Linked DNA regions of Homo sapiens: regions 1, 3, 4, 5 and 6 are each linked to region 2. Evidence: promoter capture Hi-C in human tissues and cell types (Jung and others, 2019). All regions are on one chromosome and are shown on one strand. The core of a region is centred on a gene start or on the middle of the fragment in contact, and the rest is flanking DNA. Distances in the headings are between cores, read along the strand shown.

Region 1 (2,700 bases), core at 189-2,688, 220 kb before region 2:
CCTTGCTGTGGTTACTCAGGCTCTTTGGACTGGGCCTGGCTTCCTGCCTCTCTTCTCCTCCCCTCTTGCCCCAGTGTACTCCTCAGCTTGGCCACCCTGAGCTGCTTTCCACTTTTCACACAAACCAAATCATCTTTTTCCTCTGCGCTGACTGCTCCTTCTTCCTCGGTGCCTGACTAGCCCTCACGCATCCTTCCGTGACTCAGCTTACACTCTTTTCTTCCAGAAACCTCTGCCTGGGCCCCAAGGTTGGGTGAGATAAGGCTCGATGCCCCTTATCAGTGCTCCTGTGACATATGCTACTTTCCCCAGCAGCAGGTGTTTGCTGGCACTGTCATTGCCCGTTAGCTGCTTCTGCTACAGTGTGAACTCTGCCAGGATGGAAATATGGCTGCTGGGTTCACAGCTGGATCCCCAGCACCAGACTGTGCCAAGAATAGAATATGTGCTTAAAAGATGGTCAGAGAATTCAGCAACGTTCCCTGAGGGTCATACAGTCTAGAAATACACACAAGACCCAGACTAGATGCACATATAGATAGCCCTGGAAAAATAAGAAAGGTTAAAACGGATAATAAGGCTATTTGGTGGCTACGACGAGTTTATTAGAGAGGGCAACCGGAGCCCCCAGCCCCACTCACGGACGTTCTCTCAAATCCACCTCTGAAGGTGCATGAGATAAAGGAGAGCTATTTACTGCACCTAGACGCCAGGCAATGAAAACGGGGTGAGGGTCGAGGGCAGGGATCTGAGGAGCCACATCAGGCCAGCCTTACCTTCATGTTGTCAGGGGGGTCTCCTTGGCCTGTAGTTGCACAAACAAATATCACCAGGGGCTCGTTAATCAGATTCACCTCAACAAAAAGACACACACACGTAAGACCTCCGGCTGTAAGGACCGGGCGTCCTTCCCAAAACTTGACCCCCTTCTCCTTTACTCAGGCTGACAGGGCAGAGGGATTTATGTGAGCAGCCAGACCGTCTTCTCTTTCAGGTTCCAACCTCCTCCAGGTGCTAAACTGAACTCCCCTTCCCAAACCTCCTTCCCTAAATCCGCCATAAGGGAAAGACCCGCTCTCAGAGAAAATGCGACGCCTTTTGGGTCGATGACCCCGCGAGGCGGGCACGCCAGGCCTGCTCGTCCCCCACGCCGAGGCCCTAGCGAGCCCTCACCACCGGGTAGGAGTCCAGGGCCTGCACCCGGCAGCCAAGCCGCCGGCGCCGGGCCTCGCGACCCAGTCTCTCCGACACATCCTGAGCCGTGCCTGTCTGGCTGCCGAAGAGCACCAGAAGCTGCGGGCTCGGCATCGGGGTGCGCCCGGTGGTCTGGTCTGAGACTAAAAACTAGAAGGCAGTTCCCGCCGGCCGGGTTGCAGGGACCGCTCCGCCTTCCGCCTTCCGCCGTCGACCGGAAGTGACGCACTAGGGACGCGCCCTGTGGGGGCATGGCGTCCGATCGAGGCGGGCGTTCACGGGCGGCCAGGGTTGAGTCCCGGGTCGGGGCCGGGGGATTGCCGGCGCATCAGGGCCGAGGGCTGGGGCTGGCGGGGCCGCTCGCTGCCTCTCGCTCGCAGCAGCGGCGGCAGGCGCGGGCGAGGGCCACGGGGAGAGGAGACGCAGCCCCGCGGGTGGCACGCTCGGCCGGGCCCCGGCCCGCGCTCAACGGGCGCGATGCTCTTCTCGCTCCGGGAGCTGGTGCAGTGGCTAGGCTTCGCCACCTTCGAGATCTTCGTGCACCTGCTGGCCCTGTTGGTGTTCTCTGTGCTGCTGGCACTGCGTGTGGATGGCCTGGTCCCGGGCCTCTCCTGGTGGAACGTGTTCGTGCCTTTCTTCGCCGCTGACGGGCTCAGCACCTACTTCACCACCATCGTGTCCGTGCGCCTCTTCCAGGATGGAGAGAAGCGGCTGGCGGTGCTCCGCCTTTTCTGGGTACTTACGGTCCTGAGTCTCAAGTTCGTCTTCGAGATGCTGTTGTGCCAGAAGCTGGCGGAGCAGACTCGGGAGCTCTGGTTCGGCCTCATTACGTCCCCGCTCTTCATTCTCCTGCAGCTGCTCATGATCCGCGCCTGTCGGGTCAACTAGCCTCACCGAGGTGCCGGAGAGGGAGCGCTGGACAACTAGAATGTTGACCTCGAGCCGAGGCCCTACTTGCAGCGCACCGGAGGAGAGGCTCTCTAGTCTGAAGGCACCGCCGGCTTGCGCCGAGCTGAGTGCCGGGTTTCCCTATTCCAATCCTGTTTGAAATGGTTTCTTCAGCAGGGCTTAAAAGAGCAGCCTTCATCCTGAAAATGTATTTCCTTTTGTTTAATGCTTTGAGTAGATAATCCTGAATTGAGGTCATGAGGAGGCCCCCCAGGCCAGACAGTCCTGAACCCCTCTGACACTTGGAAACTGAATATAAGTAAAATGTCCAGGTGGACTCTGAGTATTTCCTGTGGATCCTGGGAAAGTACTGTTGCACAAAGGCTGCAAAGCTGGACTCAGGAATGTCCTCCAACCAGCAGCGCTGACCTAAGAGCTCCCTGTGCCGTCTATCCAGACCAGACTTCGGTAGATGCCTTTGTTAGATCTATCACATGTAAACGAGCTTGTATCTCCTTCCCTGTGCCACGAGAGAGATTGGCTTTTTATTCCAGTCTAGGCAGAGACAGAAGAATGTTGAATAAGAGCACGATTAGAGTCCTGTCTGGTTATCTGTTG
Region 2 (2,700 bases), core at 160-2,659:
TCCCCTGTTCACCCTCACAATCCTTAGAGGACATGGGACTTTAGGATGACCTTAGAGGTGGGGACACTCCTGCTGGGGGTGGGGTGGGTATTAAGTACCTGTTCACAGGCACACAGCCTAGAATGCAGGGCCTCCAGGTCCCCCTTCCAGACACAGACACACAGAAGACACACACATACACACATGCACACACACGGAGATAGACACAGACACAGACACACTGACAGACACACACATAGACACGCACACAAGACACACACAGAGATAGACACACACAGCCAGACACAGATACACAGACACACAGACACACAGACGCATACAGTGATACACACATACACACTCAGAGGTACACATCTACAAAGACACACATGCATACACACGCACACACAGACACACACACATGCAGAAATAGACACACATACACAGAGACACAGCCACATACAGTGATACACACACAGACACAGACATGCAGACACTTTTCTCAACACCAGGCCTCAGGCAGTGCTTCCTCCAGGGCCTGGGTCCCTCTGGACTCCGTGTGGCTGCCATCTGGGGCTCTGCCGCACAGAGCCGTCGAGGACCCGTGGTCTGACCTCAATGTGCTGGGGACACCATGGTCCCTCTGGACCTTCATGTGGCCTCATGCTGGCCATCCTCTGAGGCTGAGTCTGATGGGCTCGTGTGGTCACTTACGTGGGGTATCCAAACTTGAGGGCCAGGTCACCATTCCCCAAGGGGGTCACTAAGACCACAGCCATCTTCATGGTGTCCTTGGAGTCCAGGAAGTCCTGGTCATCTGACACCACCCCGACCATGTACCAGGTGCCCTGGAACTGCAGGGCAAGTGCAGGGAAGGCTGGGAGGCCGCCCCTGTGCCCTGGGCCTGAGCCCACCACATTCTGCCCCGACACAGCTGCTTCCTGGCCACGGCAGGGGCTGCTGTACACATCTCGACCCCGATGCAGAACTGAGGGAGGGGGGCCTCAGTACATGAGCAACTGGCCCCCACCAGCCCAGCACCGGCCTGTCTGCAGCTGGCACCCAGGGGGTACGGCTGGATGGGTGGGGCTGTGGCAAGGTCACAGGTCTTTGTGGGGTGGGTGGGGGACAGTGAGGCACAGGCAACCAACTTGTCCCTATTTTGGGCCCTGGGGATTGTTGGGGGATGCAACTGAAAAGGTAGGATGGAGGCTGCAGTCTTCCCCAGCCAACCCCTACTCCAGTCAGACGGAGCGGGTGAGGTGGGGGTTTCCCCTGCCCCTAGCCCTGCTGAGCCTGGATCAAAGAGGGTGTGGACAGGGACCCGGGGTGCAGCACCAAAGCCGGGAGGACTCATTGGAGATGAGGAGGAAACAGGGCTGGGCACACCTGGCTGGCATCAAAGTTGGCCTGGATGGGGACCTGGGCCTGGCCTGGGGATGCCCAGAGCAGGGCAAGGAGGGAACTGATCAGCAGAGCCCGAAGCATCATGCAGCAAGATGGCATCTCCTCCGGACACGGGAGCAGGGCAGAGCTGAGGTGGCTCCTCTGTAGGCTTTACGCCCCTGAGGTGCCCTGGGGCGGCTGGCCTGGGACTGCACCCACTGTGACAGGCTTCTGATCAAGTTGCACCCTGCAGCGCTCTGGCCTGGCTCCCTCCACCCAACCCCAGCCATCCGTTGCCTTTCCTCCGGGGTGGGGCCGGATGCCTGGCAGCTGAGGGTAGTTCTGACGGGCCTCTGGGCTAGGGGGCCTGCAGCTCACCCATCCTGCCTCTTCGGCCTTCTGCAGCCCCTCTGGGATGTTGGAATCCCCCCTACCTTGAGCTCAGGCACAGCCCTAAGCCCCCTTCTCCGGGAAGGCCACCCAGAAGCTCACCCTCACCTCCGAGCCTCAAAATGCTTGGTGCCTCTGCAGGGTCTGCCTCGGGGGGGCCTGGTGGGCAGGTCACAGTGAGTCCTGCACATTGTGTACCTGAGAATGGCTGCCTGGGTGGGAATCTGGAAGGGAGCAGGGTTGGGCAGGGCACTGGCCGGGCATGGTGTGGCCGTGGTGCCAGGGCTCTGGTGAGTGGACAAGGCTGTGATCTGGAGGCCCAGGTCAGAGGGCAGGGGGCGCACAGGGAGCCAGAAGGGATATGGGGTAGCCTGTCCCCAGCCCACTCTGTCAGTCTGTCCTGATGCGGGGTGGAGACACTCTGGCATGTTTCAAACAAATGTTTCTTTTTGTCCCCTGAAACCCTTATCTCTGCCCAATCTCAGTGCGTTAATCCCACACCTCAAGATACCCAACAGGTCCAAAGCTCCTCTGGGGCCTCGAGCCTCAGGCCTTTACTGCTGAGGGGGTGACAGGGTGGCGTTGGGGGTGCAGGGCACCTGCCTAAGGGATTAGCTGAGTCACTGACCCCCAGCTCAGCACCGGCCTGGTGGCAGTGGCAGCTGAGGGGGTATGGCTCGACGTGTGGGGCTGTGGGGCAGGGGCACACGACTGTGTGGGGTGGGTGGGAGACAGTGAGGGACACCCCCTCCTAGCTGTCCTGACTCAAGACCCCACTGGGAGCAAACACTAGAGGGCCTGTTCCTTTGTTGACGTCAGGCTGAGATTTTAGAGGGGGAGGTCCGGGTGGCCAGGGCCAGGCCCAGGACGGGTGATGACAGCGCAGACAGCCAGGAGCCAGCTCTACTGACTTGCTTCCGGAGTTTATTGTGCAGGATGAAGCCT
Region 3 (2,700 bases), core at 160-2,659, 160 kb before region 2:
AAATTGATTGTGTGATGCTGAGGTGCATGAGTGTGTGCTAATGTAACATTTGGTGTGAGTGTGAGCATGTGTGTCCACAGATGTGGTGTGTCCATCAGGTAGGCACGTGTGAGCGGTGCTAGGCTGGATGTCTGTCTTGCCTCTTACATAAAGGGCTGCATTGCAGATCCTTGCAGCCTCATTGGAATTCAGCAGGCGCTCGGCCCAGGGGCGGACAGCTCCGACAGGCAAAATCCCAGGAGCCACGTCCTCCCCCGCAGCGCTGGCTGCCGACAGCTCCCATGCCCTGATGCCTCTCGCGTGTGCACCCCCACTCCCACCCCCACAAAGCGTCCTGCCGTGGCACCTGAGCCATTTCTCTTCCCAGGCGGACCCATCGGTAGGGGGAAGGGACGAAAGAAAGGGCAGGAGAACCTGGAAGCAGAAACAAAGATGGCCCCAGGCCCCGTCCTGTTTAAAGCTCTGCAGGGCGGGCATGTAGCTGGACAGGCGCTTCTACTCTCTTACCCGGAATGCCCACCCCCACACTGACACACTCCAGCCCCACGTCTACACACACCAGTCAGGGCCTGGAGCCCCAGGGGCCCTCTGAGGACCAGCCAAGGTGGCAGGTGACTGGTCTCAGGCCAAGATAGGGGAGCCAGCAGACCCTGGTGTTTGGTTCCTAGTGAGACGAGGCCTCCCGGAAGCAGCCAGCTGACTCTGGGGTGGTGTCTTACAGGGAGGAAGGGGGCACGGAAAGGATGGAATGAAACTGGGGGTGTGGGGTTGCAGGATGGAGGAGAGGGGAGGTGGGTGGCGGAGGTGGGGGAGGGCACCTGGCTGGAGATGAGGTCCTCGCACACCGACAGAGCCATCTGGATGGCGTTGGGCTTGTGCGTGACGGAGGTGGCATTGAGCTGAATCTTCCAGGAGCCGTGCCGCTTGTTGGCCTGGTTCACGGCCTCGCGGAACATCTGCTCGTGCTTCCGCGTGCTCAGCACCGCGCCAATGTTGACGATCTTGGGGTCGCACGCGGCACGGGCGACGGAGCAGGAGAACAGCAGGGCGAGCGTCAGCAGGCGCATGGTGCTCATGGGCTCGGGCCGCGGGCCTGGCTCTGCGCGGCGCGAACGCGGGGCCCTCGGCGCATCCCCCGCGGGGCTTCCGGGCCGTCCTGCGCTCGCCCGGCCCCGCGGGCTGCGGACGCCACGTCTCCCCCGGAGCGGCGGTCCCGGGACGTCGGCCGAGGGAAGGGGCGCTGAAGCGTGCGCGGGGGCTCGGGGCTCAGCCCCACGCGGCCGGCGCTGTCCGCGGTGCTGAAGCGGGGCCGGGCACAGCTCCGAGCGCCCGGCTTGGAAAGGGCCCGGCGGCGGCGGCGGCGGCTCCGCGGACGGCGCTGGTTCCGGTCCGGACGCTGCGGCGACTGCAGCAGCTGCAGAAACGCGAGCGGGGCCAACGTCTCCTGCCCCTCCCGCCGCCCCCGCTTCCCAACACGGAGGCGAAGGGGGCGCCTCCCGCGCCAGAGCGTGCGCCTGCGTTCGCGTGAGCGTGTGTGTCGGAGCGCGCGTGAGCCGGGGAGCGCGCGTGTGCGTGTGAGCGCGTGCCTGGAGGGGTCCTGGGACAGGGGCCTGTGCTGTCGGGGACCTGCAGGGAGCTCAGTTTGGAAACGTTAGAGGGGTCCGTGTCACCGCGTGCAGCCCGCACCCTTGCGTGCCTTTTAATAGGACCGAACGCGTCGTGCCCGCTTGTATGTGTGTGTGCGCGCAAGAGTCGTCACCCACAGTCAGCGATATTTCGGCTCCTGACTCTTGCAGACTGGAGCTCCAGAGGGGTGGGGGAGGCCCTAAGCCATGGCTCTGGGGGGCGCTCCCTTCAAGGTTCCCCTCCCCACAAGGTTCAGAAATGAGGGAGAGGCCCCATCTGCGTGGCCATGTAACTTGGGACCCCCCTCCTCGGGCTAAGAGGAATAGGGAGGGTGACCGTGGCTGCCGCATGTGCTCAGCCAGGCCTTCCGCGAGAGCCTGGAAACTGGACCCGCACTGACTGGGGCTGAGGTCGGACACCAGGAATCACTGGAGCGCCGCGAGGTGTGTTCGGGGCCAGCCGTTTCACACCCTCAGCTTCCGCTCCTCTCTCCCTCTCCAGCCCCCTCGCAATGCGCTCCCAGCGCCCCCTTTTCCAGAGCCTTACCCATCCCTCTGGTCCACACCACCCTGTCTTTGTCCCCCTCCACCCCTGGAGTGTGCGTGCCCCTCCCTAACTTGAAGGATGGCTGAAGCTCCGCCCCTGCCAGTGATGTCACCATTTCCAATAGCAACTGAGGATTCTGCAGACCTAACAGCAAACGCCCCCAATGGGACAAAACAGGGTCGTCACCACACCTCTGCTATGTGCAGCAGTGCAGCAAGGGAAGTCATGTGCCCACAGGGGTCACACTCTCTCTCCCGCTTGCCGTTCTCTCCATCAGCCGAACACTGGCACCAGGGACCCCCTGGAGCTGAGAGGAGGGGGAGGGGCTGTGGTGTTTGACAAGCTCCTCCTCTTGGCCCCTTCTCTCTCAATACAGGAAAATCTTTCCTTGGGGGATCACCTGCCCGTACCCTGCTGCAGACCCCGCCTCTCCCCGTTCGGGTTGAGGCACACGGGTCATCCGCCTCGGGGCCCTCACTCCTTCTGTTGGCTCTCAGGAGGGTGTGTGTGGGTGCTCAGGGGGACTGA
Region 4 (2,700 bases), core at 84-2,583, 210 kb before region 2:
CTTTTCTGGTCTGGGGCTGTAGCCTTGGTCAGGTTCCCAGCTTCCCTCTTGAGAACGCTGAGCAAAGTCTGGGAGCTCTCCAGGATCTGGGGCCAGAGAAGTGAGAAGGTTGTTAATGTTCACCTGTTGGTAAGGTCCTAAGCCCCAGCTGTCCTCACACTCAGGTGCTGGGACCTGGCTGGGGGTGCTGTAGCCAAGGGATCCTGTGTGGGGGAAGGCGGAAGCCCAAGGGGACTGGCAGACGGGGTGGCAGGGCCCTCTTCCCTCCGGAATCTGACCCAAAACACTTCCTCTCCACCCTCAAAGCCAGGCTGGGTTAGCACTGGCCCGTGCTGGGTGCTCTGCCCAAGACCTGGCTCTTCACACTGAGCAGAAATAACCACATGGCTAGCGAGAACCGGATAAAGACCAGGACCCAGGATGCCCCAGGCCCCACAGACAGCCCCACAGTCACTCCCACAGCAGCCTGGGTTCCTCAATGGGCCTGGCCACGCTGCCCCTGCCCGAAATGCCAGCGAGGCACAGACTGCCCACAGCCGGGAGCCCCAGCCGGTCCTGACGCCTTGCCGTGGCAACACCCCTGCCGTGCCTATCCCCTGATGCTCGGCCTGGCCTCCCGAGCTCCACCTTGAGGTAGGCGGCCTCCGTCTCCGCGATGGTCCGGTCGAACTCGTTGCGAGAGGCAATCTTGCGTGCCAGGTTCTCGTTGACGCGGGCCAGCTTCTCTGTCAGCTGCCTCACCTCATTCTGCAGCCGCTGCTTCTCGTCCTCCTCCTCCTGGATCTGCCGGCACAGCTCCTCCCGCTTCTGGCACAGCTCCTCTATGCCTGGGGGCCGGGAGGGGCGGCGCTGTGGGCCCAGGGCAGGAGCGCGGCGGCGGAGGGCGGGCCTCCTTCCACCCGAGGAAGCCAGAGTCAGGCACCACCCCCGAGCGCCCGGCGCGGGGCCTGCGAGCCAGCGAGGGCTCGGGCCACGGACACCCGGCCTCCGGCACGGAGGGCTCTGCTCAGCCGCGCGATGCCCGCAGCGAGGCGGGTCCAGGGGCACCCCGCTGCGAGCCGGGAACCCGGCCCTGCGGCCCTCCCGACCTCCCCGTCCCGGCTGCGCCGCTCACACTTGACCAGCTCGTTGTTGTAGTTCTGCAGCGCCGCGCCCTGCTGGGTCATGGTCAACGCCGCCCGGGGCCCCACCACCCCAACCGCCGCGGAAGCAGCGCTGTCCGCGCCTGCGCACGACTCCCCCACGGCGCGCCGAACTAGCGCGTCATCGCTGAGCGCCTTGTGCGCGTCATGGCTGCGCGTGCAGACGTGCGTCATCGCCGCGCGCCGCGCCGAGCGAATCTCGGAGTCGGTGGGTGCAGATGGCGGCGGCAGTTGTGGTGGCGGAGGGGGACAGCGACTCCCGGCCCGGACAGGAGTTGTTAGTGGCCTGGAACACCGTGAGCACCGGCCTGGTGCCGCCGGCTGCGCTGGGGCTGGTGAGGCCTGGGAAGAGAGGGGCGGCCCCGCGCGGAGTTTCCGGGACCGTACGCGCTTTGGGGCCGCTACCCTCGGGTTCATACGGCTCTGTCCATCATCCGCCTCTGTCCTGTCCTGCCATTTTCCACCACCTTTCCGTTTCGTTTCGTTCAGCTCCGCTGACAGCCCTTCCATAGCTTCGGCCCAACGTCCGGGCAGCACGGACAGGGGGCAGCGGAGTTTTTGCAGCCTCCCCCTCAGCTTCTTCCCTTCCCCGCCTCTCCCCACCTCTATGTTGTGTTCCCCTCGCCTCACGGTTTTCTGCACCCCAGGTGTCTTCCCGGACCAGCGGTGCAGTCCCGCCAAAGGAAGAGGAGCTCCGGGCGGCGGTGGAGGTTCTGAGGGGCCACGGGCTACACTCGGTCCTGGAGGAGTGGTTCGTGGAGGTGCTGCAGAACGATCTGCAGGCCAACATCTCCCCTGAGTTCTGGAATGCCATCTCCCAATGCGAGAACTCTGCGGATGAGCCCCAGTGCCTTTTGCTACTCCTTGACGCTTTTGGCCTGCTGGAGAGCCGCCTGGATCCCTACCTGCGTAGCCTAGAGCTGCTGGAGAAATGGACTCGCCTGGGCTTGCTGATGGGCACTGGTGCTCAGGGGCTGCGAGAAGAAGTCCACACTATGTTGCGCGGAGTCTTGTTCTTTAGCACCCCCAGAACCTTCCAAGAGATGATCCAGCGTCTGTATGGGTGCTTCTTGAGAGTCTATATGCAGAGTAAGAGGAAGGGGGAAGGGGGCACAGACCCGGAACTGGAAGGGGAGCTGGACAGCCGGTATGCCCGTCGCCGGTACTACCGGCTCCTGCAGAGCCCGCTGTGTGCAGGGTGCAGCAGTGACAAGCAACAGTGCTGGTGTCGCCAGGCTCTGGAGCAGTTCCATCAGCTCAGCCAGGTCTTGTGAGTAGTCTGTCCCGATGGCCATGCCCTTGCTCCTTCTGGTTCCCCGCTGCTCCCCTGGGTCCAGCTGGCCTCAGCAGAAAGCTGGTGAGCCGTCCTGATAACCAGGAACATGACAGAGAGAGAGTCCCAGGGATTCCTGTGCAGCGTGTCCTGGACACAGGTGTCTCTCTTCTGTCACTCACCTTCAGTCCCACAGATTCATGCCTTGACCCTGGTAAGGCCCTATGTGGCTTGTGTCTGCAGCAGCAAATTTCTTAGCAACTCCAAACTTCCTGGACTCTGCAG
Region 5 (2,700 bases), core at 138-2,637, 210 kb after region 2:
GACGGTGTTTCTCCATGTTGGTCAGGCTGGTCTCGAACTCCCGACCTCAGATGATCTGCTCGCCTCGGCCTCCCAAAGTGGGAGTGTTGGGATTACAGGCGTGAGCCACCGCACCCGACTGTAGATCACTTCTTGATCCTAACCACCTTCTCTTTCTCTGCCCTTAACATAAAAAGAGCTTGAAATTTGTACCCACCTGAGATGGCACATTAGGACTCTAGTCCACCATCTTCTTGGTTTGCTGGCTGTCTGAATAAATTGCTTTCTTCCCACCAACTCCTGTCTCTTGAGTTTTGGCTTTTGAGCAGCTGAATGTGTGTTCGGTTACAAAAGCAGTCACAAGGTGCCCCTCCCGCCAAGATTTAAGGGGTGGAGAATTAAACTGTCACTTTGAAGAAGAGAGTTCAGGACTGCCCCTTCCACCCAAGACAGCAAACGGGCCAGTCCTTGAGCAGGTAGATGGGGAGGGGAGGTGGCAGAGCAGCCTGAGAGCTACAGCAGAGTGCTGGTGGGGAGGACCATGGGAGGGACCACAGACTCAAGAACTGTGTTGAGAAGGATTTCCAGGAGGCTGGGAATGGGCCTGTCTTCCCTGAAATTAGTATTTAGAGAGAATCTGGAAGAAAACCATGCTCTCAGAGTTAGGCTTTGGTGTGGAAATCAAACCTTTGCCTGCTACACTGTTTTCTTTTTTTTTTTTCTTTTTTCTTTTTTTTTGACACAGAGTCTTGCTCTGTCACCCAGGCTGGAGAGTGCAGTTGGCACTATCTTGGCTCACTGCAACCTCCGCCGCCTGGGTTCAAGTGATTCTCTTGCCTCAGCCTCCCCAGTAGCTGGGATTACAGGTGCCCACTACTATGTCCAGCTAATTTTTTTATATGTTTTTAGTAGAGACGAGGTTTCACCATGTTGGTCAGGCTGGTCTCGAACTCCTGATCCCAAAGTGCTGGGATTACAGGCGTAAGCCACCACGCCTGGCTAATTTTTTTGTATCTTTTTAGTAGAGACGGGGTTTCTCCATGTTGGTCAGGCTGGTCTCGACCTCCTGACCTCAGGTGATCTGCCCACCTTGGCCTCCCAAAGTGCTGGGATTACAGGCGTCAGCCACTGTGCCCTTCCTGTTACATTGTTTTCTGGATGGTGGGAGACGGGAATATGCAAATGGACAATGAGCAGACCCTACCAGGACAGAGCTCTGATTCCAGCAGCCAGCGGGAAGCCCACAGCAAGCCCGGAGCAATGGCCCCCGTGCCCAGGACGTGGGTAGTAACTGGCAGCTGTCTTTCATTTTGACCCAGCTTCCGACAGGGCCCACCTGGAGTCAGGCAAACATGCTCCCGGAAAGTCCTGTTGGACGCCCTGCGCCTTCCCATTCTCTCATTCTTGGGGTCCTGATCCAGACGCTAAGAGAGGGGTTCTTGGACCTTGTGCAAGAAAGAAGTTGGGGCAAGTCCACAAAGTGAAAGCAAGTTTATTAAGAAAGTAAAGAAATAAGCTGAGCACGGTGACTCACACCTGTCATCTCAGCACTTTGGGAGGCCGAGGCAGGCGGATCACTTAAGGTCAGGAGTTCGAGATCAGCCTGGGCAACATGGTGAAACACCGTCTCTACTAAAAATACAAAAATTAGCCAGGTGGCACGCGCCTGTAATCCCAGCTACTCGGGAGGCTGAGGCAGGAGAATCCCTTGAACCCGGGAGGCGGAGGTTGCAGTGAGCCGAGATCGCACCACTGCACTCCAGCCTGGGTGACAGAGTGAGACTCTGTCTCCAGAAAAATTTAAAAAATAAATAAAGATAAAAAAGTTTATAGATGATGATTCAGGGAGAATTCGTGACTTGGTAATGATTTTATTTGGAGGATTATCACCAGAATAAAACGTTGACGATCTCTTTTTCCAATCCTGGCTCAGCGCTGACACACTTTCAGGAGGGACGCTGAGGGGTAGCTCCAACCCAAAGAAACGATGTACCCAGAGGCAGGCGGGGTGCGGGCAGGCGGGGTGCGGGGCAGGCGGGGTGCGGGCAGGCGGGGTGCGGGCAGGCGGGGTGAGGGGCAGGCGGGGTGCGGGGCAGGCGGGGTGCGGGCAGGCGGGGTGCGGGGCAGGCGGGGTGCGGGGCAGGCGGGGTGCGGGCAGGCGGGGTGAGGGGCAGGCGGGGTGCGGGGCAGGCGGGGTGCGGGCAGGCGGGGTGCGGGGCAGGCGGGGTGCGGGCAGGCGGGGTGCGGGCAGGCGGGGTGCGGGGCAGGCGGGGTGCGGGCAGGCGGGGTGCGGGCAGGCGGGGTGCGGGGCAGGCGGGGTGAGGGGCAGGCGGGGTGCGGGGCAGGCGGGGTGAGGGGCAGGCGGGGTGCGGGGCAGGCGGGGTGAGGGGCAGGCGGGGTGCGGGCAGGCGGGGCCCAGAGCGCAGAGCAGAGCAGACTGCCCCCTGGTGGAAGAATGGAGGGACGCCACCAGCACGCGGAGGGGAGCCATGCAGATGAGGCTGCGTGAGTGAGGAGGCTGCCCAGGGAAGGGGAGGGGGCTCGGGGCCCCCTGGTGTTGTCGTGCAGGGCAGACCCCCTCAGCAGGGCAAAGAGAGAGAGGAAGGTTTTTCCTCCTCCTCTGAGGGCAGAGGTCTCGGGTTAGGAAGTGCTATTAGGGGCAGGGTGCAGTGGCGGGGGCCTGGGACACTCGGGGTGGGGGCGAGGCCTGGCGTGGGGGAG
Region 6 (2,700 bases), core at 2-2,501, 180 kb before region 2:
GCGCCCAGTGCCGCCCTGGCCCGGACCGGCCACAGGACAGGGGCAGGGGATCTCCGCAGCCGGACTGACCCCACCCTACCCAAAGGAGCCCCCCACCCACGCCTCCCTCTGAATAAGCTCGCAGCCCCAGAGACCAGGTGGGAGCTGGGCTGCCCTCCCCTGCCCAGACCCCCAGCTGGCAGTGCCCCCCACAGTTCAGCCTTGCAGGGCGGGGCCAGCCCCAGATGCCACGTGATGCCAGAACTGGCCCCAGAGGACGGTCCCTGGTGCCCAGAGAGGCTCGGGTGAGGGTTCCGCTGGGAACATGTCCCTGGGAGGGCACCATGAGGGTCTCTGAGCTGCACCTGGCCTCGCTCCAGGCAGGGCCCTGGGACCCAGTGTCACCCTCTGAAAGTGGCCCATCACCTGCACGACATTTGTGCTTGCCCCCCGTGGCTGCCTGCCCCAAATCGCTGTTTCTCCTGTCTGCCTGGACACCCCCTCTTCCCCAGCCTGCCCAGCCCACGATCCCTGCGCTATTCCCCCTCCCTGTTCCCTGCGGGACTCCTGGCTCAGACTTTGCAGCATCAGCTCTGCCCGCTTTCCGCAGCAGAGGTGGCTCCAGGAATGGTGCTTCCACCTGCTCCTTGAGCCTCCAGTGGCCCCCAGGCCTACAGGCTCTCACTGTCCACCCATCCTGCATGCCAAGTCCCTTCCCCAGGAAGCTGAGCAGCCAGGCCTCATGGGTCCCTCTTGGGGCACCCTGGTGGCTTCATCTCGGGATTTGGCTTGCTTGATGCCAAGTCCTGTCTGTGCCCTGGAGGTCTGCCCCGCTTCCAGTGCACTGAGGGGCAGGTGGCTGCAAATCGCACTTCCTCCCCCGGGCGTAAGCTTCTCTCTGGTGATGCTGCTTATGGGCTGGGGGCTTCCTGTGGGCCAGACTGGTCCCTGGACTGCAGGGTGGCCACGGGGCTGAGGTCTCCGCTGCCTCTCTGGGCAGCCCCTCCCCACCATGGTGCCTGGGCCTGGGGTGCCTCTAGCAAGGCTGGGTTCGCTCTGGGGGCCTCTGGTCCGAGTGTGCATATCCGCTACAGGGACAAGCTGCCCCGAGCAGGAGGTGGGGGATTCTGGGCTCCAAAGGGCAGAAGGCCTGGCTCTTTGGGGTGGGCCTTGTGGGGTTGCTGGGGTCAGGAGCTGAGGTGGTCGTTTCCCTTCCAGAGGCCTCCCTGTCTGGGAACCTCAGTGTCGTCCTGGGCTCTGCAGGCCAGGGCTTGTGGGGCCGCCCCTACCCATTCTCAGACCCTCTGGGAGCTGCCGCCACACCTCCTGCAGGGCCCCCGCTCAGCCTGGGGTGGGAGCCACCCCTTTTGGTCCCACCCCACTCCCTGCCTGACAGTCCCCTGTGGCCGGGGCCAGTTCCAACTCCAGGCCCCAGCCGTCCACCCAGACGGACCCAGGCCCGGCCCCCAGCCCCCGGCCCACACAGAGACCACATGAAGATGCAACACGCATGGCTCTGGTGAGACAGGTGAGACAGGTGTCTGGGGGGCGGGGCCAGTGGCCAGACAGACGGACGGGATGGGACATCACAGCCACCCCCTCCAGGGCCGTCGCAGGGGCGAAGTGAGGGCGGCGGGCCCCTCTGGGAGAGGCGAGAGAAACGGGGACATAACAGAGAAGTGGTGTGGCCTCCCGGCAGCTGAGGAGTCCAGGATGGGGCCACGCTGGGCTCCCAGGGCCCCAGACCTGGCCCCGAGAGGTGGTGTGGCTGACTGACTGACCAACGAGATGACAGGCTTCAAGATGGCGTGTGGGTCATGGCAGGGGAGGTGGGCGGGCAGACTAACGGAGACACACGGGGAAAGCCGAGGACCCAGGAGGGCCGGGGAGAAAGGTCCAGAGAGTGAGAGAGAGCAGCATGGGCGGGCTGGGCAGAGCGGCCGCCACAGGGAGACAGGGGCAGAGTGGGCCACAGGAGCCCAGGGTCCGGGGCGGGGTGATGGGGCGGGAGACACACGCAGGGCAGGGCAGGTGGAGTCGGACGCGGGACTGGGGTGCTCTCCCCCTTACCGTGTCTTTGGAGGACCTACGCCTCTTGAAGCTGGAAGCCAGGGTGGAGGTGATAGCCCTAAATGTGGCTTTCTTTTTAGGGTCAGGCTCTGCTCTACCACTCTTTCTATCCTAAAATGAATATGTATAAGTGATTAGATGGCTAGGGTGGTGGCCACACCTGCCCTCGCCTGCTCCTGCATGGGCCGCTGCCCAGCCTGGCCGGCCACTTGGGCCCTCGCTCCTGCCTGCCTCCCTGTGCTGGACAGACGGGCCGACAGCGGACGTTCGAGGGTGGCCTCTTCTCCTGCCCGGGGTCTCGGGCCTGACCTTGCTCGTGCTGGGGCTGGGCTTGGGGGCTCTCGGCTGGCTCTTCCTGGGAGGTCCGCCTGGCTCCCTGGCTCCTGGGTGGCCCTGGCTTACAGGCGTCCCGAGGAGGAGGAGTCCTCTGAGGACTGGAGGAGTTGCCCCTCAGGCCACACCAGCTGTCTGCGTGGAGGCCACTGACCCCCAAGGGGCACACACCAAGATTCAGGAAGGGGCCGAGGGCTGGAGGCAGGTGTCGAGGTGGAATTGGAGTGACAGAGGCAGCTCCCGGGACTCTGGCCTCAGGTCTGATGGCCAGGTGGCCTGTGCCCGCCAGTGCTGGCAGCGGCCAGGTCCCCAGGGGAC

What was found. The method cuts DNA at HindIII sites, captures the fragments that hold promoters and counts their contacts. A contact is called where the count stands out against the background at its distance.
Region 1: a contact is called between the fragment with the promoter of TMEM203 here and the fragment with the promoter of LCNL1 in region 2, in 3 of the 25 tissues and cell types used here (dorsolateral prefrontal cortex, lymphoblastoid cells and mesenchymal stem cells).
Region 3: the fragment with the promoter of GRIN1 here is called in contact with the fragment with the promoter of LCNL1 in region 2 in 1 of the 25 tissues and cell types used here (spleen).
Region 4: a contact is called between the fragment with the promoter of ANAPC2 here and the fragment with the promoter of LCNL1 in region 2, in 3 of the 25 tissues and cell types used here (dorsolateral prefrontal cortex, lymphoblastoid cells and spleen).
Region 5: a contact is called between a fragment that was not itself captured here and the fragment with the promoter of LCNL1 in region 2, in 3 of the 25 tissues and cell types used here (lymphoblastoid cells, mesenchymal stem cells and spleen).
Region 6: a contact is called between a fragment that was not itself captured here and the fragment with the promoter of LCNL1 in region 2, in 1 of the 25 tissues and cell types used here (spleen).

What each region holds. Positions count from the first base shown.
Region 1 is chr9:137,204,386-137,207,085 of GRCh38, reverse strand. It overlaps TMEM203 (transmembrane protein 203), which reads left to right and starts at 1,438. Exons shown (of 1, transcript NM_053045.2): 1 at 1,438-2,700. The coding sequence starts at 1,672. The coding sequence ends at 2,082. NDOR1 (NADPH dependent diflavin oxidoreductase 1) reads right to left here and starts at 1,386. Exons shown (of 14, transcript NM_014434.4): 1 at 1,174-1,386; 2 at 777-854. The coding sequence starts at 1,308. RefSeq lists a silencer at 1,423-1,682. The HindIII fragment of the contact is 14,043 bases long and covers 1-2,700 here.
Region 2 is chr9:136,981,702-136,984,401 of GRCh38, reverse strand. It overlaps LCNL1 (lipocalin like 1), which reads right to left and starts at 1,409. Exons shown (of 3, transcript NM_207510.4): 1 at 694-1,409. The coding sequence starts at 815. It overlaps PTGDS (prostaglandin D2 synthase), which reads right to left. Exons shown (of 7, transcript NM_000954.6): 7 at 2,660-2,700. RefSeq lists an enhancer at 1-71. The HindIII fragment of the contact is 9,863 bases long and covers 1-2,700 here.
Region 3 is chr9:137,137,863-137,140,562 of GRCh38, reverse strand. It overlaps GRIN1 (glutamate ionotropic receptor NMDA type subunit 1), which reads right to left and starts at 1,409. Exons shown (of 20, transcript NM_007327.4): 1 at 819-1,409. The coding sequence starts at 1,076. RefSeq lists a silencer at 1,572-1,866. The HindIII fragment of the contact is 23,460 bases long and covers 1-2,700 here.
Region 4 is chr9:137,187,193-137,189,892 of GRCh38, reverse strand. It overlaps ANAPC2 (anaphase promoting complex subunit 2), which reads left to right and starts at 1,333. Exons shown (of 13, transcript NM_013366.4): 1 at 1,333-1,477; 2 at 1,790-2,412. The coding sequence starts at 1,361. It overlaps SSNA1 (SS nuclear autoantigen 1), which reads right to left and starts at 1,217. Exons shown (of 3, transcript NM_003731.3): 1 at 1,115-1,217; 2 at 628-827; 3 at 1-86. The coding sequence starts at 1,166. RefSeq lists a silencer at 826-1,175 and an enhancer at 1,206-1,425. The HindIII fragment of the contact is 18,290 bases long and covers 1-2,700 here.
Region 5 is chr9:136,769,866-136,772,565 of GRCh38, reverse strand. It overlaps LOC107987143 (a long non-coding RNA gene), which reads left to right and starts at 2,414. Exons shown (of 3, transcript XR_001746981.2): 1 at 2,414-2,484. RefSeq lists an enhancer at 1,262-1,762. The HindIII fragment of the contact is 6,223 bases long and covers 1-2,700 here.
Region 6 is chr9:137,164,646-137,167,345 of GRCh38, reverse strand. It overlaps GRIN1 (glutamate ionotropic receptor NMDA type subunit 1), which reads right to left. Exons shown (of 20, transcript NM_007327.4): 19 at 2,050-2,160. Among named protein-coding and RNA genes, the nearest start is that of MIR3621, 3.3 kb to the left of the region's middle. The HindIII fragment of the contact is 3,110 bases long and covers 1-2,700 here.